Regions from separate parts of the Homo sapiens genome. Here region 1 is linked to region 2. Evidence: promoter capture Hi-C in human tissues and cell types (Jung and others, 2019). All regions are on one chromosome and are shown on one strand. Each heading gives the region's core, a stretch centred on a gene start or on the middle of the fragment in contact. The rest is flanking DNA. Distances are from core to core; before and after follow the strand shown.

Region 1 (3,235 bases), core at 659-3,158, 34 kb before region 2:
GCTAGGACCTGGGTGCACAGGGAACAGGTATGAGACACAGGCTCTTCATGCCTGCACACATATACGGATACACACAGATGCAAATTTCTGAGCCATCTAAATACAACACCTATTCAAAAAATTAAACAGAAAAAGGAAATGTAATGGAGCTAAAGGATAAGGGTAGGTGGGCGGCTGCTCAGGAGGACTGTGGAGGCCACATCACCCAAACTTTGAGGCCTCTCTTAGCAGCTGGAGTGCATCCCGGAGACTTGGGAACTCTGGAAAGAGGAGCAGGAGAGGGCCATGGCCAGAGGAGGCCTGAAAAAGATCATCTCTGACACAGAGAAGAAGCTGGCTCGGATGCTGGTGGCCACTGTGGAGACAGGTAGACCCAGGGAGACAACTGTATGCATTCAAGGAGGAATGGGTGGTGATGCAAACCTAGGTGGAGGCCACAGGGTGCAGAAGACAGGACACAACAGAGAGAGATGTAGGACATGGAAAGGACAGAAAGGAGTGATCACCGGACGTAAAGGGGCAAGGAAAGTGGAAGCATGAGAGCATCTGCTGGGCATCTGGCTGAGGGGTCATGTGCCCAGGGTGCCCTTCCCTAAGGGAGAACCCAGGACAGGAGCAGATTCAGAAAAAACCTCCCAGCTCACTCCAGCAAGAAGCAGAAAAGGGACTGGTTAAAGGACAGGGTAGGAAGGTCACCAAGCTCCAAGGGCCCTCATGAAGCCAGCTTGGAGGCCACAGGGCCCAGGGCAAGGACCAAACCACAGGCACAGGACAGCTCTGGTCAAGACCTTCTGGCTACCGCAGGAGGCAGAAACCACACCCTGCACCCTGCACTGCTGAGGCTGGCCCTGGGGTCCAGAAGCTTCTACACCAGAAGCTTCTGTCCCCGATCCCCACTGAAAAAATTAAAACAAAAACAAAAAGCAAATCGGTGCCATGCACCCTCTGCTTCCTGGTGCTGTTCAGGATCCTGAGTCTTTCACGGGAGCACCTAATGGGGAAAGCCTGGACCCGTGTCGGTGTCCCTCCTGCAAGGAGTGCTGGGAAAATGAACTTTCCGGCTTCCTCCTTGGGAAAGAAGAACATTCCCCATGTGTACTGGTGGCATTTAAAAACTGCAGGGCAGCCAGAGAACATGCACCGTGTTCCACCAGGAGAGTTTCCAGCGGGATGTCCCGGTGAAGATGCCCGTCCCAAGGTGGGTATTTGAGCTGAGGAACTGAGAAGCTGTTTTCTGCCTAGAGTTAGAGATCCGAGAGGCATCAGCACATGGAAGGGAGGGAAGCTATGATGCCTCCAGGGTGGGAGATCAGATGAACCAGGAGAGGCAGGGCCCGGGAGGAACCCCGGGGAGCAGCCGCCTTTAAAGCCTGGGGGAAGTAGCTTCAGAGAAGGTGGGGCAGGTTGGGTGGGGGGTGCTGGAAAAATATAATTAAGAAAGAAATTTCTGCTCATCCCAGAAACCCCCATCACATCCGTAGACGTAAAAGAAACCTGTCTTATGATTAAGCATTAAGCCAAAATGTGATGCAATCTGCTGAGAGATGACAAAGTCAGAAATAAATCCCACTTTGGATCCAGCCAAGCAGGTGCAACCCGTTACACACATGGTCTCCAGATAGACGGTGACTAGTTTCCAGTTGAAAGGACTCAATGGCACCATTTGTCACACATAGTTCATCCTAAATTCACCCAGTAAGTGGGTTGATTCTCTGTGTGGTTAATTGGCTTTATCTACAGGAAAAACAAACCTCTTATCTATGACAGGAGGTAGTTTTGCAACTGGGAGTGAGATGCCCCAAGAACTGAGGTTCCTTCCTTCTCACAGAAACTGGGAGACAGGGGCGCCTTCTGCCCGGATGCCTGCCTTTCAAAGAGAGGTCTCCTATGGCCTTGAGGAGGACAGTTCTGGGTTGGCAGGCAAGATGTTTATGTATGCTTTAGAAAGCTTTACATACATCTTCAAGGGCTAGAGAAAGAATTTTCAATTACCTCTTCTAAAAAATAAATGCTCTCAAAGTCCAGCCTAGGCTGCATAGCAAGATCCAATCTCCACACACACAATAATAATAATCAATTTGCTGGGCATAGTGGGGTGTGCGTGTAGTCCCAGCTACTCAGGAGGCTAAGGAGGGAGGATCACCTGAGCCCAGGAAGTTAAGGCTGCAGTAAGCTTGGATGGCACCACTGCACTCCAGCCTGGGTGACAGAGGGAGACTCTGTCAATGAATGAATGAATGAATAAATGAATAAATGAATGAATAGAAAATGCTCTGAGCGAAAAGAGGAGAGTCTCTTTATCTTTTTGCAACAGGCTAAACAAAATTTTTAAAAATGTATATTTGCCTCACAGAGATTATTCCAGGAAAAGAAATGGCCCTCAGTGTCAAAGGATGCAAAACTAACCTGTGAGTTCCTGGCAGGTTTAGCAATAAAGGAGGATGTTGCTGATCTCAGTACAAGCAATGTTAGAGAAAGGGGAAGATGGAAGTGGACGAGGACCAGTGAGTGGAAGGTGACAAATGGAAGCAAAGAAACCCATCCAGACCATTGAAGATGCTTGAGCGAGAAGAAAGAGGCGGTGGAGGGAATGGAAGCCCGAGGAAGTCATTTGTTGCAATAGGATGCCTCAGAGCACGTGTAGGGTGCGGGGCAGAGCCCATGCAGAGGGGCTGTGGAAGGCTGGCAGGGTGCAGGTGGCCCCACTCTCCGTCACCCTGAGGAATATGTGGTCAGAGTTAAAGCTCAGTCTGTTTCTGGGATCAGGTAAGAGGTGAGCGTCCGGAGAAGACAGGCGGATCTTCAGATCCTGCAGACCTCCACCGCGCCCTCTGTCCCTCTTGACTGCTTTTTCTCCATCTCCATTGTCTGGCTCACATTCGTGTCACTTTTTCATTTCTCCCTACCCCTCTTTTCTCTTTTCTCCTCTCTTTTTCTTAACCCTTATACCTTTGGAAGTCCCACTAATAGAATTTAAACAGCTTTTCAAGTTGGTTTTTTGTTCCCAGAAATTGACTTTAGACTCTCCATGAATAATGTGGAAATCAAACGAGTATAAGCTGATTCACGTCTCTGCAAATGAACAAATAAAGTCTACATTCCAATGCTTTCTTTTTCCAGAGTAGCCCACATTTGATTTTTTTTTTTTTAATTACTGTCACTTGCAATAGATTTTTAAATCTTGTAACCTGGTTACACAAATACCATGGGGCCAAAGACTTACTTCCTGTAAGAG
Region 2 (3,525 bases), core at 914-3,413:
ATTTAGGGACAGAGGTCTGGGGTTGAGGCTTCTAGGGCTGAGCTTCTCTGAGGGTCTCAGGGGGCCCCTCAGGCCAAAGCCCTACTCAGTTCTCCAGGGTCTTTCTCAGGGTCAAATTTATGAAGAGGGCATGAGGTGCTTGGCTGAGACTGATCTCCTCCTGCTGAGTCCCCCCATCAGACTGTCCTTCCTCTGCAGCGAGTGTCTGCAGGGTCTGGATGCGGGAAAGGAATTCTGATCTGTTGAAATTTGTCTCCTCTGTGTGTGTCCTGCACTAAATGCCCAAACCGCAGCATGGGACATAATGCAGAGAGGGACACAGGCACAGTGCAGGCCTGACAATCCTGTGTGTGTGAAGTAGAAATGACCCCTGTCCCCCAACACCCAGGGATCATGTGGAATCACTCACGGTATAAGTTGAAGGTGAAATATCCAGTTACTCCTCTAGTCCTATCACCTCGCTTTATGATGTGTAAGGTGTAGGATCCTGCGTCTTCCCGGGTGACATTCTGGATCAGCAGGGATGCATTGGAATATACTGTTTCTCGTCCAGTGTATGCAGGCCCATATATATTTATTTGACCGTCTACTACATATGATGTAATGTAATGGTAGAGGTCCATCAGTTGTCCTTTGTACCAGATGTAGCCAGCAAGATTCTGAGGCAAATTGTGGACAAGTAGAAGAACATCCTTCCCCTCGGAAACTTTGGGTGGCAGGGCTTCAATCGTGACTTGAGCAGTGATAGGCAGGTTCCAGAAGTTTAAAAGTGATGCTAGGAGGTGGAGAAAGCACCAGTCAATATTGAGACCTGTGTATTGGGGTGAAAAGATGGAGCCCTGGGTCCTGAGAAGGTCTCTTCAATCCTCAGCCTTGAAGACACACACACACACAAACACACACACACACAAAAGGTGCATGTTAGTTTGTGTGTGTGTATGTGTGTGTGTCCTACTGTCCTACTAGGTCAAGGTCAGCAGCGTGACCCCTATTCCTTCAACACTTCTGACCTTGGCATTTTTGTATGGAATCCTCTTCCCCAGGGGTCCACACGGCACCCCCCCCCCCCCACACTGCCCTCAGGTCCTGCTCACATCAGGGCATCCTTAGACTTCTTTCCTGACACGTCCTTCAGAGACCCTGGGTCTTCCCTTTCTGACCTTTCCCTGCTCTGCTCCCTCCAGGGTTCTTGTCAACACCTGACCTCACATTCTAGATCTCTTTGCATGTCTGTCTTCCTCCCCATGACAGCGTGAGCTCTGTGAGGACAGGGACTTTTGTGATCTTGGTTGCACCCCAGTGCCTGGAACAGGCTGCAGACTCCTGCAGATGTGAGAGTTCTCAGGGCCCTCCACACCCTTGGTGTTTTATTTTCCCCCAATTGTTGAGGATTTTGCTGAGGACAGTGTTTCATGTCCTGCTTATACTTTTATTAGAAGTGTCATCTGATATAGTTATTATTATCATTTTTCAAAATGTCGTGGCCCTCTTACCAATTCCGGTTCAATATGACTTTCCAGTTTTGACCTCTGTCCCTCTCTGGTGTATTTTACCCTATCCAGGCTCCAACAGAGACTTCTTTCCTTTTTTTTCTTTTTTCTTTTTTTTCTTTTTATTTTTTTGAGACAGAGTCTCGTACTGTCACCCAGGCTGGCGTGCAGTGGTGCTATCTCGGCTCGCTGCAACTTCTGCCTCCCGGGTTCATGTGATTTTCCTGCCTCAGCCTCCAGAGTAGCTAGGATTCCAAGAGCACACCACCATACCTGGTTAATTTTTTGTATTTTTAGTAGAGACAGGGCTTCACTGTGTTGGCAGGACTGACCTTGAACTCCTGATCTCATAATCCACCCACCTCATCCTCCCAAAGTGCTGGCTTCTTTTATTTTTTAGAACCCCATCCTCTCCAGGAGACCCAATCCAGTCACTCTTCTTCCTCCTCCTGTCCTCTCCCAGGAAGTTCTCTCCTCACCTGTGAGCAGGAGCCCCTTCCAGGTGATGTGCTGTGTGCAGGGAGGGGCTGAGAGGGGCCCCATGGTCTCTGCGCCTGCGTGTTCTCCTCTGTGGAGCTGAGCCTAGGATCCAGAAACTTCCTGAGCACGGCTGTAGGCTGTGCTGTCCTTCCTCCTTCTGTGCTGAGCCTCTCTCCAGGGCAGGAGCACTTCTCAGGCTCATGGGTGGGGTCAGGCCCAGGACACCTCTCTGTCCCCTCCTCTCTCAGTCCTGCCTCCTTGTCCCTCCTTCTGTTTTTCCTTTTGTCTGTGTTTCAGGTCCCTGGGAATTGTGGAGGCCTCTGCATTTTTCAGCAGTGATTCTTTCACCAAACCTCAACCACACTTTGTGCAGACACACACACACAGAAGAGACACACACAGACCCACACAGTCACACACATACCCCGCAGGTTGGGCAAGCAGAGTCCTGGGCCTCAGCCTCCTGCTGTCCCCATGGCTCTGGGTCGGGATGCACATTCACGCCCTTTGCCCTCTTTCATCCCCATCTGGCTCTCCCCTTCAGTGCAGGAGGCTGAAGCTGCAACGGGTCCCTGTCACAGTGACACCCCATTGTGCTGTGGGTGAGCTGTGTGTTGCCTGGTGAGAGGGACCCTTCCTTTCTCTAATCGTGTCTAGCTTGGCTGCAGCTTCCAAGGATGGACCTTCAGGACCTGGGTGTCCCAGAGGAAACTGTCCTTCCTGGAGGTGTGCAGGGTGAATCTCTCATGCCTCTTGGGAGGAGAGGCCTGTGCTGGTTGCTCAGTGGGGGCTGTGAGTCCCAGAGTCAAGAGGACAGTTCTTCATCACTCTATGGCTCCCTGGGGTCTGGCAGCTGAGCTGGAGCTCAGGGTTTCTCATGTTCTCCCTGACCATCTTTGATGTCCTCTCTTCTCTGCCCAGCTGACTGTCCTGGGGTCACCACACCTTCCCCGTTGTGGTGCAGGAGGAAGTGGGGAGTTACCCAGGAACCCCGCGGGACATGGCTCGTTGAGACGCAGGAGGGGGAGCCTGGGACAGAGCAGGGGTTCAGAGCTGGAGAGATTCATCCCGACTTACTCCGTGGCCATGATGGGCTCAGCCCTCCATGTGCTGACATACCCAGGGGTCTGTCCTGAGGGTTTTGACCTGGCCAAGCTGCTCTCTGTAGAGGAGGAACAGGCATTGGCCAGAGATCCTGTCTGGAGGGACGTTGCTCACACCTGAGAGGGCGGGTGGGGGTGAGTTGTGTTCTGAGAGCAAAGAGCAATAACACCCCTCATCTCCCCGCAAGCACACAAGAGAGGTCTGTCTTCCCAAGGGACAGCTGGTGGCAGGTGGCCACATCCCGGATGGTGCCTGTGTGTGACCATCACACGCTCTCTGCGCCCCCTGGGCTGCAGCAGGCAGGCAGGACACAGGGTGCCTGGCTTATTCCCGGGGAGGCTGTGGGCCCTCAGGCAGCCACTGTTCTGTGTCAACACTAGGCTTGGCCTGGGATGCCCCAGAGAACAGGACAGATGGAGCAGGGGCGGGCATTTAGGGAGCAGTGACAGAA

The links. The method cuts DNA at HindIII sites, captures the fragments that hold promoters and counts their contacts. A contact is called where the count stands out against the background at its distance.
Region 1: a contact is called between a fragment that was not itself captured here and the fragment with the promoter of PSG5 in region 2, in 1 of the 25 tissues and cell types used here (H1 embryonic stem cells).

Annotation. Positions count from the first base shown.
Region 1 is chr19:43,150,846-43,154,080 of GRCh38, forward strand. No RefSeq gene overlaps it. Among named protein-coding and RNA genes, the nearest start is that of PSG11-AS1, 2.4 kb to the right of the region's middle. The HindIII fragment of the contact is 3,003 bases long and covers 408-3,235 here.
Region 2 is chr19:43,184,373-43,187,897 of GRCh38, forward strand. It overlaps PSG5 (pregnancy specific beta-1-glycoprotein 5), which reads right to left and starts at 2,164. Exons shown (of 6, transcript NM_002781.4): 1 at 1,970-2,164; 2 at 410-775. The coding sequence starts at 2,033. The HindIII fragment of the contact is 15,826 bases long and covers 1-3,525 here.